7 separate regions of the Homo sapiens genome follow, and regions 2, 3, 4, 5, 6 and 7 are each linked to region 1. The links are contacts of gene promoters, found by promoter capture Hi-C in blood cells and fetal thymus (Javierre and others, 2016). All regions are on one chromosome and are shown on one strand. Each heading gives the region's core, a stretch centred on a gene start or on the middle of the fragment in contact. The rest is flanking DNA. Distances are from core to core; before and after follow the strand shown. Region 1 holds the start of ATP11B (ATPase phospholipid transporting 11B (putative)). Region 2 overlaps PIK3CA-DT (PIK3CA divergent transcript). Region 3 holds the start of ZNF639 (zinc finger protein 639). Region 4 has its middle 3.1 kb from the start of MFN1. Region 5 overlaps ACTL6A (actin like 6A). Region 6 overlaps MRPL47 (mitochondrial ribosomal protein L47). Region 7 overlaps NDUFB5 (NADH:ubiquinone oxidoreductase subunit B5).

The links. Contacts are between HindIII fragments. The CHiCAGO score rates a contact against its expected background, and 5 or more counts as called.
Region 2: a contact is called between a fragment that was not itself captured here and the fragment with the promoter of ATP11B in region 1, in 1 of 17 cell types (naive CD8 T cells). The highest score is 5.6, in naive CD8 T cells.
Region 3: the fragment with the promoter of ZNF639 here is called in contact with the fragment with the promoter of ATP11B in region 1 in 7 of 17 cell types (activated CD4 T cells, naive CD8 T cells, M2 macrophages and 4 more); the score reaches 9.5 in activated CD4 T cells.
Region 4: a contact is called between a fragment that was not itself captured here and the fragment with the promoter of ATP11B in region 1, in 1 of 17 cell types (M2 macrophages). The highest score is 6.2, in M2 macrophages.
Region 5: a fragment that was not itself captured here is called in contact with the fragment with the promoter of ATP11B in region 1 in 1 of 17 cell types (M2 macrophages); the score reaches 6.0 in M2 macrophages.
Region 6: a fragment that was not itself captured here is called in contact with the fragment with the promoter of ATP11B in region 1 in 2 of 17 cell types (M0 macrophages and naive CD8 T cells); the score reaches 7.8 in M0 macrophages.
Region 7: a fragment that was not itself captured here is called in contact with the fragment with the promoter of ATP11B in region 1 in 2 of 17 cell types (M2 macrophages and M0 macrophages); the score reaches 16.4 in M2 macrophages.

What each region holds. Positions count from the first base shown.
Region 1 is chr3:182,792,123-182,794,966 of GRCh38, forward strand. It overlaps ATP11B (ATPase phospholipid transporting 11B (putative)), which reads left to right and starts at 1,382. Exons shown (of 30, transcript NM_014616.3): 1 at 1,382-1,664. The coding sequence starts at 1,638. ATP11B-DT (ATP11B divergent transcript) reads right to left here and starts at 1,242. Exons shown (of 3, transcript NR_187316.1): 1 at 958-1,242. RefSeq lists a silencer at 1,217-1,966. The HindIII fragment of the contact is 13,212 bases long and covers 1-2,844 here.
Region 2 is chr3:179,142,857-179,145,700 of GRCh38, forward strand. All of the region lies in intron 1 of PIK3CA-DT (PIK3CA divergent transcript), which reads right to left. Among named protein-coding and RNA genes, the nearest start is that of PIK3CA-DT, 3.7 kb to the right of the region's middle. The HindIII fragment of the contact is 1,329 bases long and covers 799-2,127 here.
Region 3 is chr3:179,321,581-179,324,424 of GRCh38, forward strand. ZNF639 (zinc finger protein 639) reads left to right here and starts at 1,451. Exons shown (of 6, transcript NM_001303426.2): 1 at 1,451-1,711. RefSeq lists silencers at 1,181-1,620, 1,651-1,790 and an enhancer at 2,361-2,410. The HindIII fragment of the contact is 4,241 bases long and covers 1-2,546 here.
Region 4 is chr3:179,343,164-179,346,007 of GRCh38, forward strand. No RefSeq gene overlaps it. Among named protein-coding and RNA genes, the nearest start is that of MFN1, 3.1 kb to the right of the region's middle. The HindIII fragment of the contact is 2,685 bases long and covers 62-2,746 here.
Region 5 is chr3:179,570,427-179,573,270 of GRCh38, forward strand. The region is part of intron 3 of ACTL6A (actin like 6A); the gene reads left to right. LOC124909462 (a long non-coding RNA gene) reads right to left here. Exons shown (of 2, transcript XR_007096181.1): 2 at 1,097-1,344. Among named protein-coding and RNA genes, the nearest start is that of ACTL6A, 8.9 kb to the left of the region's middle. The HindIII fragment of the contact is 882 bases long and covers 1,021-1,902 here.
Region 6 is chr3:179,591,862-179,594,705 of GRCh38, forward strand. MRPL47 (mitochondrial ribosomal protein L47) reads right to left here. Exons shown (of 7, transcript NM_020409.3): 5 at 1,904-2,034; 6 at 783-878. Among named protein-coding and RNA genes, the nearest start is that of MRPL47, 11 kb to the right of the region's middle. The HindIII fragment of the contact is 1,543 bases long and covers 695-2,237 here.
Region 7 is chr3:179,615,044-179,617,887 of GRCh38, forward strand. NDUFB5 (NADH:ubiquinone oxidoreductase subunit B5) reads left to right here. Exons shown (of 6, transcript NM_002492.4): 2 at 1-16; 3 at 940-1,006; 4 at 1,940-2,001. Among named protein-coding and RNA genes, the nearest start is that of NDUFB5, 12 kb to the left of the region's middle. The HindIII fragment of the contact is 2,302 bases long and covers 199-2,500 here.

The sequences.
Region 1 (2,844 bases), core at 132-2,631:
TATAGTAAGAAATGTCTACTGAAACTAGAAGATTGAGGATGCATATTCAACGACCTGCCTAGTCATGCTAATCTCATTTAGATTTGTTCTTGCTTAATTTTTTTTTTTTTTTTTTTTTTTTGAGACGGAGTCTCCTTCTGCCGCCCAGGCTGGAGTGCAGTGGCGCCATCTCGGCTCACTGCAAGCTCTGCCTCCCGGGTTCACGTCATTCTCCTGCCTCAGCCTCCCGAGTAGCTGGGACTACAGGCGACCGCCACCACGCTCGGCTAATGTTTTGTATTTTTTAGTAGAGATGGGGTTTCGCCATGTTAGCCAGGAAGGTCTCGATCTCCTGACCTCGTGATCCACCCGCCTCGGCCTCCCAAAGTGCTGGGATTACATGGGATTACAGGCGTGAGCCACCGCGCCCGGCCGCTTAATTTTTTTTTTTTTAACCACAAACGTCTGTCGGTGAAGTGTGCTTTAATTCAGCAAAAATACAGCATTCAATACATATACATAACACAATATGTATACGGGGCTGCTTTTAAACAACGCCAAACCTTTAAGTCAAAGCCTTGTTCCAGTTGCTTGTATATTCCTTCTGAGCTTGTCATCCACACACTTTTTTAACCTAGGTCAAGTTACTGCTACGGGTGTTTTTGATTGCAGAAGTTTGGCAGTTAGCAGTAAAGAACTACCTTTTTATACAAATTATCTTCCCCTGAACCTGTCCAATTTAGCACACGGCAAGACAGAATATCTCATCCATTCGCCTAGAAACACGGGTCCAGGCTGTACCAGGCTCAGGGGACTTGCAACGCTTTCGAATCACTTAATGGGTGTGATCAAGATTTCCCTAGCCCCGTCTCAGCCATTTGCTAAAGAAGAGGCCTGACTTGTGTTGAGACGAAAGCTCTTACAGCTTGATGGAACCCAAACTGGGACTTCTGGGGGGATTAACTTTCAGTCACATACGTTCAGGACTGTGCGTATGCGTGTCGGGAGACGCGTGAACCAAAGAAGCCACAGAGCCCGAAAAAGACCTGCAACAGGAGGTAGAGACCGAGGAATCGGCCCCAAGCTGCAGACTCCGGAGATGGCCAGACCCACAGACACGACTTAATCCCACTCCCAGAACGGGGAGGAGGGTGGCAGTGGACAGAAACAGCGTTCGAGAACCCGGCACCTTTCCACGCTCGCTTCTTCCCGGACCCACAACACAGAAACCCCCCAACTCGGAACGGCGGCGGGGCGCGCCAGGCCCCCCTCGGTCCGCGCACCCCCTTTCGTCACGTCCGGGGGCGGGCCGGGGCGCCGGGGGCGGTCCCGGGTGGAGCCGGGGGGCCGGGCGGGGCGGGGCGGGGGTGGGGTTGCGGGGGTGCTTTGGGTGACAACGGTCAATAATGAAGGTGGCTGCGGCGCGGCGGCAGGCTCAGCTGCGCCGGGCGGGGGCGGCGCCGGGGCCGCGCCTGTAGGACTCGGGGCCGACGCCGCGGGATGGGGACGCGGCGCGGGGAGTGAGGCAGTGGCGGCGGCGGCGGTAAGCGGAACTTCGGCCCGAGGGGCTCGCCCGCTCCCGCCTCTGTCTTGTCGGCCTCCACCTGCAGCCCCGCGGCCCCCGCGCCCCGCGGGACCCGGACGGCGACGACGGGGGAATGTGGCGCTGGATCCGGCAGCAGCTGGTAGGTGCCCCCGCCCCTCCACCTCCATTCGTCCGCCCCCGCGGGGCCTCTCGGCCCGGGGTGGCGGGGAAAGGCCGGCGGCGCGGAGCCGGGAGGCCAGGGCGTGGGCGCCCGGCTAGGCCGCAGCGGAGACGGGCGCGGGGCCCAGAGCCGGAGAAGCCCCGTGCGGCTCCCGGGCTCGTCTCGCCTCCAAGCCCGGGCCGCCGAGGCTGGCGCCGAGCGGCCGGAGGCGGCCGCTTCTAGCCGGCGCTTCTCCGTTACTTCTTCCCCCTTGCCGCTCCGGGGCTGCTGTGGCCAGAGGCGGGAGTCCCGAGCGGGGTGGCGGTGCCCCCAGAGGAAACAGGGCGAGGGAGCTGAGCGAGAGTAGGTCTTGGGGAGATGAGAGAGGCGTGCTCTTCCTGCCTCGAACAATTTGGGACGTGTTTGGGTGAAGGGGAAGCGAAGAACCTGTCTTCTGCCCCCACTCGTCACGGACTTCTGGAAGCGTGTCACGATCCAGAGCTGTGTTGATTCCCGAGGAGGAGGCTGTCGTAGGTGTCTAGCCCCCTCAGCGAGAGACGTTTCTCCCCAGGACCTGGAAAGGGGAAAGACTGTGCCAGCTGCCGGTCTAGCTTCGGAAACGATACGTATTGTACGATAGTTACGAACGATACGTACTGTCGTTTCCTTCCTACCTCGTCCTCACCCCACCCCGAGTGAAACTTTTCGAGTGTGAACCTTACTTTTTTCCCGTTCTCCTCAAGGCAGTTTGAACGACACAGGTTTGGAAGGAATAGTTAACTCTCCAGTATTATTGGAACATCTGGACACCACCAACAAAAAATCTTAGAAAAGGGTCATTTAAGGCCTATAAAAAGTGCCACCTTTCCCAGAATTAATTCAGAGAGAAAAATCTTATCTGCCTCCTGGCAGCTACAGCGCAGAAAGTACAGCATTAAGGCAGCTGTGACAATTAGGACAGAAATTGCCCCTGGCTGAAGAAGCCTAACCTTATCTGTGTGATGAGGCCGGTTACTATTTAATTTCTAAATCGCATTAACTTAATGCTTCTACAAGTTGGCGTTTTCATTTACTAATTCTAAAGGCAGTGGTAAAATTTAGTGAAACAGGAACTATTTTTGTGGGACGAAAGCACTGATAACTCTTTTTCCCTTCTGCTCTAGAAAAGCATTTTAACGTT
Region 2 (2,844 bases), core at 213-2,712, 3.6 Mb before region 1:
GAACTAGACACACACAAACAGAAGAAATAAAACAATACCTCAGCATATCAGAATCAAACCATTTAAAACCTAAATTTTTAAACTTTTTTTTTTTCTTTTTGAGACGGAGTCTCGCTCTGTCACCCAGGCTGGAGTGCAGTGGCGCAATCCCGGCTCACTGCCAGCTCCGCCTCCCGGGTTCACGCCATTCTCCTGCCTCAACCTCCCGAGTAGCTGGGACTACAGGCGCCCGCCACCACACCCGGCTAATTTTTTGTATTGTTTAGTAGAGACGGGGTTTCACCATGTTAGCCAGGATGGTCTCGATCTCCTGACCTCGTGATCCACCCACCTCGGCCTCCCAACTAAATTTTTAAATCTTGATATAATCCAGAGAAAAAAGAAAAATTACGTATTGGGGGAAACTATTTGAATGACCACAGATGAGACCTGAAAATAGTCTTTTTTATGTTTTTTAAATTAATTTATTTATTTACTTATTGGAGACATGGTTTTGCTCTGTCGCCTAGGCTAGAGTGCAATGACATGCTCACAGCACACTGCAGCCTCAAACTCCTGGGCTCAGCGGATCCTCCCACCTCAGCAACAGCCACCCGAGTAGCTGGGGCTACAGATGCATGCCACTAGGACCGGCTAATTTTTTTGTATTATTTTGTAGAGACGGCGTTTCGCCCTGTTGCCCAGGTTGGTCTCAAACTGCTGGGCTCAAGTGATCCACCCACCTCAGCCTCCCAAAGTGCTGGGATTACAGGCGTGAGCCAACACACCTGGCTGAAAATAGTCTTTTACGAATTTCAAAGCTTTGATTTCTCCATAAGTGCACTCCTGGTAACTTGAGAACATTACACATTTGTCTCCTTTCTGTGGCCAGAATTGTTTTGTATTTCAAGTATGGAAAGGAGCTTTGCCAGAATCCTCCCGTGCTAAGTGTAAGTAGAGCAGTTAGACTTTAACATGGTTGTGTGATAGTAATGACATTCATATCTGACTCTAGGCAAGGCATGGCTGGAATGAAAAACATTGACTGTTAAGTGTTTTAAGGTGAACTTCTCAGATACTAGATCTCTTAGCTCACATAGTGGAATTTTGAGGAAAGTACAGGGTTTGCTCTTCATCTCCTAAGAAATGCAATGATGATTCTTTAAAGTACTGATGGGTCAGGGAGGGGAGAAAACCATTAACCGAGAATTGTATAATCAGCTAAAATATTTTGCAGAAATGAAGGCAAAAGTAAAATATTCTCAAATGAAGGAAAATGAAGGGAATTTGTCACAAGCAGACTTTCTCTAAAAAGAATGTTAAAATTCTTCAGGATAAAGGGAAATTATACCAGAAGGAAAAATGGATTTTCAGGAATGAAGCAAAACATAAATGTAAATGGATACGTAAATATAAAAGATTATTTTTCCTCTTGAGTTCTATATGACTGTTGAAAGCAAAAATTATAAAAACATCTGATGGGGCTTCCATATATATAAATGTAATACATATGCCAACTAATGACATAAAGGTCAGGGAGTGGGGTAGGAGACAGTGGTAAATCTACACGGTTGCAAGGCTTCTTTCTACATTTTACTTGAAGTGGTGTAATAGTAATACTAAGTAGACCGCAAAACTTTAGGTATGTATATTATAATCCATAGAATTACCAAAAAATTACCAAGAAATATATTAAAACTACAATATAGAAATTAAAATGGAATATTAAAAATTTTTCAAATAATCCACAAGAAAGCAGGAAAGTAGAAACATAAAAACAAAAGTATAGAGGAAAAACAGAAAACAAATAATAAAATGGCAAGCCTAAATCCATATAATTACATTAAATGTAAATTAAACACAGCAATTAAAACACAGAAATTGTCAGATTGGAATTTTTAAAAAGAGATCTAATACGTGTTGTCTACGAGTAACTCACTTTAAATATAAAAATAGATATAAAAAAGATGGGAAAAAATACCATGGAAAAATTAATCAAAAAAAGCTGGACTGGCTGTATTAATATCAGACAAAGTAGATTTCAGAACAAAGATATTACTAGGAATAAAGAGAGATAGTACAGATTGATTAAAAAGAGTCAATGTATCAAAACACAAGAGTTCTAAATGTGTATACATCTAACAACAAAGCTTCAAAACACACAAAGTAAAAATACACAGAAGTGAAATGAGAAATAAAGAAATCCACAATTATATTTTGAAACATCAATGCTAACAAAATCATCAACTTGGTAAGAAACTACATTCTGCCCAACAATAGCAAACAAAATATTCTTTCATAAGTGCACATGGGACATTCACCAAGATATTCTGGGGCAACACAAATCTTAACTTGAAAAGAACTGAAATCTTAAAAGTACGTGTGTGTATGTGTGTGTGGGTGTATGGTTTTTTTTTTTTTAAGATGGAGTCTCGGTCAGGCGTGGTGGCTCACACCTGTAATCTCAGCACTTTGGGAGGCCAAGGCGGGCGGATCATGAGGTCAGGAGTTCAAGACCAGCCTGACCAATATGGTGAAACCCCGTCTCTACTAAAAATACAAAAATTAGCCGGGCGTGGTGGCACGTGCCTGTAGTCCCAGCTACTCGGAAGGCTGAGGCAGGAGAATCACTTGAACCTGGGAGGCAGAGGTTGCAGTGAGCCAAGATCGCGCCACTGCACTCCAGCCTGGGTGACAGAGCGAGACTCCATCTCAAAAAAAAAAAAAAAAAAAAAAAAACAGTGCTACATGGTAACTCATATCGTTATCTCTTGGTGTGTTTTTATTGTTTGACTTGGCAATTTTATACATCTAAAGTATACTGCTACATAATCAACTTGACTCTTATTTACAAAGGACTTCAAA
Region 3 (2,844 bases), core at 201-2,700, 3.5 Mb before region 1:
CTATGTTAAACAACATCTAAACAAAGTCAAGCTCCTCTAAGTGCAAACAATACGTGGGATGCTGGGGAGAGTGTGCGTTTACTTTCACTACAAAATGTTTTGGAGTAAAACTTCATTTTGAAATATAAAGATTTTGTTGGACACAAGGCTATGTGGTAAGGCAAAATGGTAAGATGGTGGCATGACACCCCCTTGTGGTTTCCACCGATTCCCGGTTCTGTGCTAGATACTAACTATTCTAGGATTTAAAAATGTCTCTACATTTCTTCGAACTTTAATTCGGGCCATACTAGCATTCGTGAGCATTTATTTGAGCTGAGTACGCACATAAAACTTAGGAGGTCATAAAAACTGAGCCTCACAAACAAGTAGTGTCTCTTTCAAATATAGCTTTATCTCCTGGGGGATGGTGAAGGGATCAGAGTAAAGTCTGTGATTATTACTTTCCAGCGATTGATTGGTTGATTGGCATGTGGTTGTCAGAAAAAGCAGTGGACGTGAACAAAGAGACATCATTGCAGCCCTAACTATCCGAGTGACCTTGGGTACCTGATAATCCACATGGCTCTCAGTCATCCTCTTAACCGTTTGAACCTCAGGGGTTTAGGCTACCAAAATGAATTAAGACCCAGTCTTTAGCTTCTCACACATTTACTTTTCCATTTTGTAAAATGTGACTAAAAACCTCAACTCATTGTCAAAAGGACTGAATTAAACATATCACCACACTTGCACAGAGATCATTTATGGAACCATGTTCACAAATTTATTTATGCTCGTGTAATTTAATCATTTCTACAGCTGCTCAAAGAAAGTCAAAGTCGAGAAAGGACTTAAATCGTCGAGTCCAGTCCCCCTTAACTCCTCATTCATTCCACTATTTCTCGAGCCAAGGAATCGGGTGAAACTCAACAACGACTCGCAGTCTTCAGGTTTCACCCTCTTGCCCTGAGGGCAGCATCCTAGCCCTAGGTGGTTCTCTGGTGTGGCCTCAGTAAAACCGTGACGAGGTCCTCGGCCTCTCTGTCCCCAACAGGCGGCTGGCACACTTCGGGGTCTGAGATGCCATCTGCCTTGCCTAACCTGGGCAAGACCACTCGCGTCCTTTCCCTTGAGGAGCAGCGTGGGAAAGGTGCCGCTGCGCGCCACGTTTCTCCCAGTTCCCCAGGGCTTGAAGGGGCGGTGGAGGCGGGCGGGATAAATTCGCTGGCCGCCTGGCGTGGAGTAATCCTAGAGGGTGGGATCGCCCTCGGGGCTCGGGAGGGGCTCTTCCCCGCCCAGAAGGAGACTGCGGCGGCGCAAGGCCTCCGGCAGGGGGCGCGGGCCGCTGGGCCTCCCCCGGGGCTGCGGGCCGGTGGTCCCTCCCAGGCCGCGTGTGCGGTGCGTTCGCGCAGCCCGCTCCCTGCCCCCACCTCACCTCGTCACCTCCCCGCCCTCTCGGCGGGCCCCTGAGGTGCGCGGCGCAGGCGCGGAGCGTGGCGGCCAGGGCAGTGCGGCCGCGGAGCCTAGGCCAGGGGCCTGGCGCTCAGGGCGTGGGGCGCGCGGGGAGGGAGAGGGGTCGGCCCAGCACAGCGTCCGGGAGCGCTAGGGCCGGAGCAGCGCTGCCCGCCGCCGTGCGTCCGCGGGAAGGACCGCGCGGCCCCTCCGCCTGCGCTCTCGGCCGCCGCCGCCTCTGCGTGGGCCGGCCGGGAGGGCCTCGGGGGACTGACTGGTGAGTGTGAGGGAGGAGCGGGTGGGTCGGGCGCTGGACTGCTCCAGGGGACGCGGGCGTGCGGGCGCATCTTCTAACGGGAGAGGGCGGGAGAGACCGGAGCTCCCTTTATACGGAAACTCTGCCTTCGTTATATGGCGGGATGGCGTTCCCCTCCCCCATCCCGAAGGCAGTTCCACCCCCTGCGCAGGACGCCTTGGCCGGGCTCCCCTCGGCCCCCTGCTGCCGTTGTCTTTACGGAACCTTTGGTGTCGGGGCTTGGAAGTCTCCTTGGCGCCGGCTTCTGGGCCCGGGCGAAGCTGGTGCGTGGCGCCGGGGTGGAGGCGGCTAAGTCCCAGGGACTTCTGCCCTGCGCCTCCGACGGGCATTTGTCTGGCTGCGTCCGGGCTCGGGACGATCCTGGGTCCTCGCTGGCGCTGCGGCCCTGCCCGGCGGCTTCGTGACCTCCGGCGGCGAATCCCCGGGCTCGCGCAACGAGTTGTAGCCGCGGAGAGCAGGCGTCGATGCTGGCGCCCAAAGCCTCCAGCCTGAGAGTCGCCTCACTCGTGTGACGGTGCTTAGAAACCCCCTTTTTTGGTTTTGTCTTTAAGTACTGTCTAGGGAAACGAATCATTTGAAGCAGTTTATGCCTTTTTTGTTTTTTTCGAAGAGAAAGATTTATGCCGGACTGAAAAATAGCGAATCAAGTATTTAGTGACCGTGTGATATTGCAGTAAAGACTGCCTCCACGTTGGACATGTAGTGGATTCTAGTTCAGGCTCTCCTGCAACATGTTTTTGTTTCAATTCTTTTACAATTTAAAGCATATGCTTATTTTAATGAGAACGAAAAAGAAAGCTTAACTCTTTTTAAACTCGTTAAAAATGGAGTTATTTACTGTAAAGACGTCTTACAGCAATTAGGAAGAATATACATTGCATGAAAGGCCTTTTGAAACGTTTATCTATTTGATGATTGCTGACTGCCTGTTGTATGTATTCTATTTTGTGCATAGACTTTCTTGTTGGTTGAAAAAAATGACAGGTGGAAAGATGTTGGTTTCTAGGTGATATAAAAAATTTTTAAACATTTTTCTGATTTTTCTGCAGTGACACGTGTTACATATGTCGTTTGTATTTCAGAGGGAGGGGGGA
Region 4 (2,844 bases), core at 154-2,653, 3.4 Mb before region 1:
ACAGTAGATGTAATGTTACTAAGTTTTTCTTAGTCCATGGGTTCTGCAACTCCTTAAAACAAGCTTGTCCAACCCACGGCCCAACACAAATTTGTAAACTTTCTTAAAATGTTATGAGATTTATTTGCAATTTTTTGTTTTGTTTTGTTTTCGAGCTCATCAGCTATTGTTAGTGTATTTTATGTGTGACCAAAGACAATGCTTCGTCCAGTGTGGCCCAGGGAAGCCAAAAGATTGGACACCCCCTTCCTTAAAAACTTTTTTTTTTTTTAACCTTAAAAACTTCCATTTTTACAGGCTGGGCGTGGTGGCTCACGCCTGTAATTCCAACACTTTGGGAGGCTGAGAGGCAGGTGGATCACCTGAGGTCAGGAGTTCGAGACCAGCCTGGCCAGCATGGTGAAACCCTGTCTCTACACAAATAGAAAAATTAGCCAAGCATGGTGGCGGATGCCTGTAATCCCAGCTACTTGGGAGGCTGAGGCAGGAGAATCACTTGAATCCGGGAGGTGGAGGTTTCAGTGAGCCTAGATCGTGCCATTGCACTCCAGCCTGGGCAACTGAGCGAGACTCCTCAAAAAAACAAAACAAAACAAAAAGACTATTTTACTATGCTTCTATTTAACTAACAGCTATGGAATATCTACTATCAAGCCAAGTGCTCAGGAATACAAAGATAAACTATGGTTCTTGACCTCAAAGAGATTTACCATATAATGCAGGAAACTGTCACCTTTCTGAACTACAATTCAATTAAATATCAAATTGACTTTCATGTATCCAAGTATTTGCCTTTTGTATAATGCTACCTACCATACACGTTCTTGTCAGTTTTTTATATACTTGTGATTCAGTACTTCCAAAATATATGCAGAATGACTAAAGTTTATACTCCCATCAGCAAGATCATGTTTCCGCACAGGCTTATCAACAATATCATACAACTTTTAAATTTCCTGTAAATCTTAAGGTCATAAAGTAGTACATTATTATTGTTTAAATTTGCATAATCTGATTACTAACAAGGTTGAGACTATCTAATATGCTTATTAGTCATTTTAACTTTCATTTTGTGAACTGCTTCTCCCTATCCTTTGTCTGCTTTTCTGTTGGGTTTTCTGCTCTATTTTCCGAAGTTCTTTATTTTTAACTATTGATTTTTGTTGGCAATATATACTGCAAAAAATAGATTTCCTATGTGTCTGTTATGGATGACTTTTTTGAACAGAAATCCTTAAATTTAATGTAATAGATTCATCACATTTTCCCTTTACATTGTACCTCCTGTCTGTTAATTTTACAAAATTCTCTCCAACTAAAATGTCCCCAAATTATTTTCCTACGTTTTTTCCTAATTTTCTGGTTTTACTTTTCTTTTTTTTTTTTTTTTGAGACGGAGTCTTGCTCTGTCGCCCCGGTTGGAGTGCAGTGGTGAGATCTCGGCTCACTGCAAGCTCCGCCTCCGGCATTCACGCCATTCTCCTGCCTCAGCCTCCCGAGTAGCTGGGACTACAGGCGCCCGCCACCACAACCGACTAATTTTTTTGTATTTTTAGTAGAGACGAGGTTTCACCGGATTAGCCAGGATGGTCTCGATCTCCTCACCTCGTGATCCGCCCGCCTCGGCCTCCCAAAGTACTGGGATTACAGGCTTGAGCCACCGCGCCCGGCCTGGTTTTACTTTTCATGTTCAGGTCTTATACCCATCTGAATTTGTATATAGATATGATTCAAACTTTATTTTTGTTAATTAAATTGAACCAATTTCTCCAATGTGATAAAATAATTTATCTTACCCAGTGATTCATAATACCAATTTTATCATATACCAACTCCCCATGGACATAATTAGCATGTAAATCTGTGTCTTACACAATTACATTCCATCGTTTGTTCCTCCAAGAGTATCACATACTTTAATAGTAACAACATGCTTTAAATATTAAGAGTTGGGTAAGTATAGGCAGAGAACAAGGGAAATAAAGAGAAATGGTTGATAATTTAAAAAATAATAAATATTAGAGCTTTGCTTATAGCAAATAAAAAATAAATGTTAGGACTTATTATAAATATTAAACTTTAGCAAGTACTTCTTCTGCATGTATTGAGATAAATGTGGGTTTCCTCCTTTGGTCTGTCAGTATTATGGATTATATTGATTTCTGTTTGATGATTTCTGTATTCCTAGGAAAACCCTACTTGGATAAAAAAATAATTCTAATACAACGTTGGCCTCAGGTAGCTAATATTTCCTATGTTTGCCTCTGTAGTCCATAAGTGTGAATTTTTTTTTTTTTTTTTTCTGGAGACTGAGTCTTGCTCTTTCGCCCAGGCTGGAGTGCAGTAGCGTGATGTTGGCTCACTGAAACCTCCGCCTCCCGGATTCAAGTGATTCTCCTGCCTCTCCCTCTGGAGTAGCTGAGACTACAGGCACCTGCCACCACGCCTGGCTAATTTTTGTGTTTTTTATTAGAGACAAGGTTTCACCATATTGGACAGGCTGGTCTCGAACTCCTGACCTCATGATCCACACGCCTCATGATCCAAACTGCTGGGATTACAGGCGTGAGCCATCGCACCCGGCAAGATTAATCTTTTCGTTAAACATGTAATAGAAAGTTACCCCGAAAATCATCTAGACCTGGCTAGTTTTGAATATGTGGGAAACTTAGCCTATTCGAGTTTTCTATTTTTTCTCGGTCTAATTTTGGTATTTGATGTTTTCCCAGATTTTATACTTCATCTAAGCTTTTCAATTTGTTGGCATTTATATATATATCTATAGTTATTCTCCCCTTAATTTGTGTCCTTTCATTTTTTATGTTCTTGAACAGATTTGGCAGT
Region 5 (2,844 bases), core at 212-2,711, 3.2 Mb before region 1:
AGCTTACAGTTAGTTGGGGGAAATAGATGTATATATACAAATAATGGTACACTGTGGGATAAGTGGTACAATATAGGTATGTGCAATGAGCAATGGGATTAGAGAGGAGAGGTATTTGACTCTAGTGTTGGGAGTCAGTGATGGTTTTCACAAAGGAGGTAACATGATGAATCTTGATCAATGAGTAAGAATTAGCTTGGCTGACAAAGCTGGGTAAAGCAAAGGGACCAGCATGTGTGAAGGGATGGAATTGTGAAAGAAACTTATGTGCTTGAAAATGTAATACAATTAAGTATGGTTGCAGCATTGGGCTTATTAGGGTCAGTAGCAGGAAAGGTAGGCAGAGAGCAGTAGCAGGAAAGGTAGGCAGGGAGCAGTCATAAAAGGGCTTGTAAACCATCCCAGGGTTGTATTAAGCTAGTGACTGAAGGATAACCCCAAAGGAATTTAAACAGATGTGATGGTCAGAGTCCAGATGAGAAATGAAAAAGGTTTAAACTATTATATAATGCTGGTAGAGATTCTGAAGGGACTTTCAGGGTAACCAGGAGACAAATGGTACTAAATGATCGAGGGAGTGAAAGCAAGAGAGAAGTTGAGAAAGTTTCCTAGATTTTTGGTTGGGGTAACTCTGAACAGAGAGTACCATGCATTGAGATAGGAATATAAAGGGAAGGAGCAAGTGTTACGGTTTTAAAAGGCATGGTTGGCCATGCGTGGTGGCTCGCGCCTATATAATCCCAGCACTTTGGGAGGCTGAGACTGTGGGTGGATTGCTTGAGTCTAGGAGTTTGAGACCAGCCTGGGCAACATGGCGAAACCCCATCTCTACTAAAAATACAAAAATTTGACAGGTGTGGTGATGCGTACCACCTGTAATTCCAGCTACTTGGGAGGCTGAGGCATGAGAATCACTTGAACCCAGGATGCAGAGGTTGCAGCTGAGATCTCATGACTACACACCAACCTGGGTGACAGAGTGAGACTCTGTCTCAAAAAAAAAAACAAAAAAAAAAAACAAGCTTATCAGGGATAGCCAAAATCACTCTCAGGTTCAATTATTCACCAGCAAGACTCACTCACAGGACTCAGCATATGGTTGTATTCACAGCTAAGATTTATTGTACTGAAGATTCAGATACAAAACAAAATCGACAAAGGGAAAAGGGACAGGGGATGATGAAGTCCAGATACAGGCTTTGGAGAGTCTTCTCACAGTGGAGTCACACAGGATGTGCTTAATCCCTCCAGCAACAAGTTATGATCTGTGTTACCTTCCAGGAGAACTCTGAGGCTCAGTACCCAAGGATTTTACAGAGGGCTGGTTATGTAGGTACCATCTACCTGGCATGTAACAAAATTTTAGATTCTCAGAAGGAAAGCAAGTGTTCAGAACAAACCACATTGTATAAACAGTGTAGGTATAGCGAGCTACCCTTACCATTTAGGGACAAGTTTTATATGAACATAGGGAACTGTTTGCCAGTCATGTTTCCAGACACCAGCTAAGAGTCAGCCTTACAAGCAGGCCTTTCTCAGGCTTGCAGTGTTAACTCTTTCATGTGTAGTAAGTAAATGGGTTCACTGAGTTCAAAGTACTTAGAACATCCAGGTGATAATTCAGTAAACGGGAATAAAAGGTTATAAGAAAGATTTTAAGACATGGAGTTGCATTTTATTACTCTGAAAAAAATTGGAACATGAGAAGAGGATTGAAGATGGAGTTCTAGCAAAAACTTGTTGTATATTTTAACCAATAGAGAATAAAAGGTACCCTTGAAGGAGAAAGAAAGGGAACAATTAGGGATGTAGGAAAAAAAGCAGGGGAAGAACAAGAAAAGAAAAAGTTTCTGGAAGCATAAAATTCCAGTTATTCTCGGTGTTTTCTGCTGTGACATTGAAAGCTTTACACTAAGAAAGAAGTTAAAAAAATCCAGGTGGGCCTGTGGAAATATATAATTAATGACATTTTTTCTTTGGGCTGTGACAGAAAAGTTTGTAAACTCTTGTGTAGGCAATACTGTCATAATTTAGAGAAGTCAGATGAGATTAAAAATGTTAAGTATCCATGAATTTGCCTAGTAGAAGGTCATTAGTGGCTGGGGGCGGTGGCTCACGCCTGTAATCCCAGCACTTTGGAGGCTGAGGTGGGTGGATCACCTGAGGTCAGGAGTTCGAGACCAGCCTGGCCAACATGGTGAAACCCTGTCTCTACTAAAAATGCAAAAATTAGTTGGGTACGGTGGCGGGCACCTGTAATCCCAGCTACTCGGGAGCCTGAGGGAGGAGAATTGCTTGACCCCAGGAGGCGGAGGTTGCAGTGAGCTGAGATTGTGCCATTGCACTCCAGTGTGGGGGACAGAACGAGACTCCATCTCAAAAAAAAGAAAAAAGAAGGTCATTAGTGACTTATGTCAGTAGTTTTAATGGAATGTTTAGGTGGAAGCCAAATTGAAGACAGATGCTCTTCTTTGAATTTTTAACATGTCTTTTAGTCTTTTTCCAAATAGATTGTAAGTTTTTTTGAGTGTCGGGTCTAGACCATACAATTCTTTCTTTTTTTTTTTTTTTTATAAATCCAGCAGTAGTATCATCAGAAGGCCATACAATTCTTCTGTACTTCCTATTATCATTCTGATCACATTCTGGGCCTCTAATAAGTATTTATTGAATTGAATAACATTTACTTCATATTTTAGGTCTGTTAGATTAATTACATTTGGGACAGGTCTGGGGGCTGGAGGGACCAAAAAGAAGTTCTATATATCTAGAAGGCAAAGGTAATCTCTATATAAAGTAATGTGGTATGAAGTTGATCTGTAAAATCAGTAGGTTCTGTATACT
Region 6 (2,844 bases), core at 216-2,715, 3.2 Mb before region 1:
TCACTCTGTCGCCCAGGCTGGAGTGCAGTGGTGCAATCTCAGCTCACTGCAACCTCCACCTCCCAGGTTCCATCAATTCTCGTACCTCAGCCTCCTAAGTAGTTGAGATTACAGGCACATGCTACCATGGCCGGCTAATTTTTGTATTTTTAGTAGAGATGGGGTTTTGTCACTTTGGCCGGGCTGTTCTCAAACTCCTGACCTCAAGTAATCTGCCTGCCTTGGCCTCCCAAAGTGCTGGGATTACAGGCATGAGCCAACACGCTTGGCTGACTGTGGCTATTTCTGAAGGTGAGCTTATATATGACTTCAATTTTCTTTTTTACCTATTTTGTTTGTTTGTTTGTTTTTGAGACGGAGTCTCACTCTGTCACCCAGGCTAGAGTGCAGTGGCGCGATCTCTGCTCACTGCAAGCTCTGCCTCCCGGGTTCACGCCATTCTCCTGCCTCAGCCTCCCAAGTAGCTGGGACTACAGGTGCCCACCACCATGTCCGTCTAATTTTTTGTATATTTAGTAGAGACGGGGTTTCACCATGTTAGCCGGGATGGTCTCGATCGCCTGACCTCGTGATCCACCCACCTCGGCCTCCCAAAGTGCTGGGATTACAGGTGTGAGCCACCGCACCCAGCCTGACTTTCCTATTTTTTATAATACTTATGTAATAACAGAAATTAAAATTTAAAGACAGCTTAAGCTTTCTTTATGTCATCTGGTATGATATATGACCATATGTCATCTGGTATAAAGATAATATGTTTTATTAAAGGTGCTTGTGCTCACCTGAGAAAATGGTCCACATAAGGCAAGGCAAAGAATCGTTTCCTATTGTATCTTTTATTTAGGTGCCAAGGTATAACCCACTGCTTGAACTTGTGCCTGCCAATAAAGCAAAAAGTTATTTGCCTTAAAGAAAACATTTAATACATTTTCACTTTCCTAATTTACCTCAAAAGGGTTAGTCCAAATAAAAATTAGTAGAAAATAAAACATAAACATTTTTAGTGAGATGCTTTGGCAATTTCTCTTTTCTGTGTTGGACTTAAACCCCATTAAAAGAACCTACCGAATGAGTTATGAGTTAAGTGGTATAATGTCAAGAGTACAGGGAAGGTCTCTAACCAAAATGCCTTCCCCATTCTGCCTACGTTTAAAAGTCTAATGATATTTCATCTTGGTTGTTCAGCCCAAAGGTAAATAAACCTCTTTCTGAGGGGAGGTTTATTTACCTTTGGGTTGAACAGCCTCCCCACCGAAGGAGGTTTATTTACACCAGGTCTTCTCAGTTATTTACACCTCAGCATGAAGGCTGATTACCAGATCCTTTCCCAAAGGCTGACAAGACTCTGGGATTTGAATGTAGGAGAAACAAGGAGGTATAAAAAATAAACTACTTCATAATTTGCCCTAGGGCTTATCCTGATGGCAGTGGGAGCAAACTGAAACTGGTTCATGTGACATTCCCTGAGACTTTAAAAAAAATAGTTCCAGGTTCTCAATGTGCAAAGAGGGCAGGTGTGTGTCCTGAAGTTAGCTTCATGGATTTTATACCTTCTGAAGTGATATGTGTACATGTACATTTTTCTGAGGAAACGATCCCTAACTTTCATCAAATTCTCAAAAGGCCTTGTGATTCATATAAGACTAAGAACCACTACAATAAAGACTTATAGGTAACTGAATCATAGGAATGGGATGTCTGGGCTGGTTTTACCAGATAAAGCTACCTTCATTCATATCCTCCTTCATTAAAGTCCAAAGGGGTGTGGGGCCTCTTCTTTTATTAGACATATCTCTAATATTATCTCATATGGTACAAATTTTTTTTTAAAAGATATTGGGCAGGGGAATGAGGCATGGATTTCCACTCTCATCTTAGAAGAGCCACAGTGTTAACTACATACCAGATGATTCTTCCAAAGATGTCTCTTCTCCAAGCACCAGGTCTAGCTCTTTCTTGACCAGTCTGAAGAAGCCTTAGGGCATCTTCTCTTTCCTGGACAACTTTATCTAATGCATCCATGGAATCTACTACCTGAAAAGAGAATAGAAAGATACAATTTCAACAATCATCTACTACAAAATTCCCAAAAAAGAGAATGTATAAACACTTCTGCTACAGAAAACTTATGAATATTTATGCCAAAGAACCACTCTGTTAAGTATTTCCTAAAAATCTTTTTGGCACAAGTATGTCTACATGGGTGTCTAGATTACCACTTTCTGTATTTTTTAAAAAGCTTACAGTTTTAACTACAAATATATTTCCATTAGTTTTGTTTGGAGTGAGATACACTTACATAGATTCCTTTTGGAGACCCAATTTGATTCATGTTATTTCAAAACTCAATGAGCTAATAAGAAGTGATAATAATTTGCTATTTTCATTATATTAAAAAAGACATGTTCTGGTCTCAACTAATCACTGTGTCCTTGACATGCAGACACAGATATTGTGGCCTGCTTGGTAGCTGTTGCTACTACAGGGAAAGGAATAGCAGTCCATCCAGATATGAATCTCCAAAGATTTATCAAGATGCAAGATGATACTATTAAACTTCTATTTATTTTTACCTCTTTAAGATTTCTATTGTTTTATAATGTATATATTGGCAGGGTTTTATACATATATATATTTTTTAGACAGAGTCTTGCTCTGTCACTCAGGCTAGAGCGCAGTGGCGTGATCTTGGCTCATTGCAACCTCCACCTTCCAGGTTCAAGCAATTCTCCTGCCTCAGCCTCCTGAGCAGCTGGGATTACAGGCACCTGCCACCACACCCGGCTAATTTTTTGTATTTTTATTAGAGATGGGGTTTCACCATGTTGGCCAGGCTGGTCTCAA
Region 7 (2,844 bases), core at 100-2,599, 3.2 Mb before region 1:
TTTTTTGAAGTTATTGGTAAGTTTAAATTTTTTGTTGAATTAAAGTCTTTGCATGTAACAGGGAAAAAATTTTTGCCTCTTTAGAAAACATCTTTCATTTTATGAAATATTTTATTTTGTAAATTTATATTTCTTTCTGTAGAAGATACTGAGACTGTAAAGTCTGATTTGTTATTGAATTTCTCTTTAAATTAGTGAAGCTTTCCTTCTTCACAAAAGGATTTACACTAAATGGAGGTAAAACTTGAACCATTCCTTTCTTCTGAAGATTATGGCGTTTCGAAATAGAATCTGTGTTCCTATAACTAAAATATTCTTTAAATTACCAAAGAACTTGTTGAAAGACTTGCTTAAATAAAGGAGCTACATTATTTTGGGATATGATTTTATATTTATATGTTGTTCAGGAACATTTATTTCAGAGAGTAACAGGGATCTATAGTGCAATCTTAATTTAGCAATAATATAATTACATTGCTTATTTAGAATGCTGACTATATTTCTGTCTCAAGGCTCTATACGAACAAAGTAGAGGCTTAGAAAATGGGAGATTGTCTGGACCATCTGCCACGGTAGATAAAGCTCTGAATCATCATTTGAGTACTGACCTTAAAACTTTCTCTTGCCCTTCCGTTGTGTTTAATGACCTTTTTCATCTCCTTGGTTGAGCCCTTACTTTTCTTGTTATGACCAGCTCAAATCCTATTTAGTGGTAGAAATCACCCTGATGCTTTTAGACTTTTGTTCTTAACATATTATTTTCTTTCATGGCATTGCTTTACCAAAAAGTAAAATCACAGAAATCAATAATTTGGTACTGTATGCCCAATTTGGCAAGTTTATTTTATAAGAAATATGAGGAAATCATATCATGAGGATGATTTGTGTGTGGGGAGAGTTACGAAATGGTCATGAGAAACACTTTTTTTTTTATCTTAGAGATTCTACATTGCATTGACTGGGATTCCAGTAGCAATTTTCATAACTCTGGTGAATGTATTCATTGGTAAGTCACTTCCATCCCCTGCCAGCACCACCAGATTGGAAAAATTTTTAAACATATGTACATTAATATAAAAAAGAAATTATGGATATTGTAATGAAAAGCTCTTTAAATAATTAAGCATAAGCATGGCAGTTTATCTTAAAATAACCAAATCTCAATCTGAACTAAGAATTTTTTAATCCATCCTAGAACATATAAAACTATAATCCTCGGCCAGGCACAGTGGCTCACGCCTGTAATCCCAGCACTTTGGGAGGCCGAGGCGGGCAGATCATGAGGTCAGGGGTTCGAGACCAGCCTGGCTGACATAGTGAAACCCCGTCTCTACTAAAAATACAAAAAACTAGCTGGGCGTGGTGGCAGGCGCCTGTAATCCCAGCTACTCGGGAGGCTGAGGCAGGAGAATGGCTTGAACCCAGGAGGTGGAGGTTGCAGTGAGCTGAGATGGCGCCATCGCACTCCAGCCCGGGCAACAGAGTGAGACTCTGTCCCCCCCCCAAAAAAAAACTATAATCCTCTTACAAAGACTGAAAGTGTCAATGACAGTAAACATTAGATTTTCGTGGGAAATTTTGTTCAAAGTACTTCTAACACCTTGAATCCTAAAATGTTTTGTATCATAGGTATAGGGAAGACCAGAAGGAATAATATGTCTTTTATTATATCTTGTTACAGTATAGAAAAACAAAATGAGAAACTCATGGAATACCTATAAATAATGCCTTACACAGAGAGATGTCTAAAAATGTCTAACAAATGAATTGATTTTCAACCAGATTAAAGTGAATTAAAAATACTACATATCTTCATTGGTACAAATTTTTTAAAGAATCCTTTAAAACCACAAGAAGTTGGTTTCTTACTTTAATGGTGAATAATTAATTTTATAAACTCCTCATGCTAAAGTTAAACATAACCATTTTTTCTTATTAGGTCAAGCTGAACTAGCAGAAATTCCAGAAGGCTATGTCCCAGAACACTGGGAATATTATAAGGTTTGTATAGGACATTGACAATTACATACTGTTACATGCCTTGTCAACGCACTAGTTAATGTCTTAATTCAGCAATTATGATATAGTCAGGTTTTTTGTTTTGTTTTTTTTGAGACAGCATCTCGCTCTGTTGCCCAGGCTGGAGTGCAGTGGCGCGATTTCAGCTCACTGCAACTTCTGCCTCCCGCATTCAAGCGATTCTCATGCCTCAGTCTCCCACGTCGCTGGGATCACAGGTGTGTGCTGCCACTCCTGGCTAATTTTTGTATTTTTAGTAGAGACAGGATTTCACCATGTTGGCCAGGCTTTTCTGGAACTCCTGGCCTCAAGTGATCCACCCACCTCAGCCTCCCAAAGTCCTGGGATTAAATGTGTGAGCCACTGTGACCAGCCATGATAGAGTTTTATATTTCATTTTTTATATCAAGCAGATACATTTTTTTGCATACTTTTTATAAACAACGAATTTTGGTACTTCATTTTTAAAAAAATCATTTTAAGCTTTACAATTTTTTAAAGAATGATTGCAGTGTGTTCTCAGCCTAACAGAGTAACATAATTTATCCTAAGTTCAATGCCTTAGGAGAGACTTCACCAATGTTAATGCTAGCTGTCATTTATTGAGCACCTACTATGTAACAGGTACTGTGCTGAGTGTTTTACAAATATTTATTATTTCATCCCATGTAAAATGTACTATTATTATTCCCTCTTTGTAGATGAAGAAAGTGAGGCTAAAAGAGTTAAGTGACCTGTCTAGATGGGGTCACTATTTCAACCCGGGCAACTTTGACTCCAGAGCCTGAACTGTTGGTCATTATACCATACTGCCACTGCTACCAA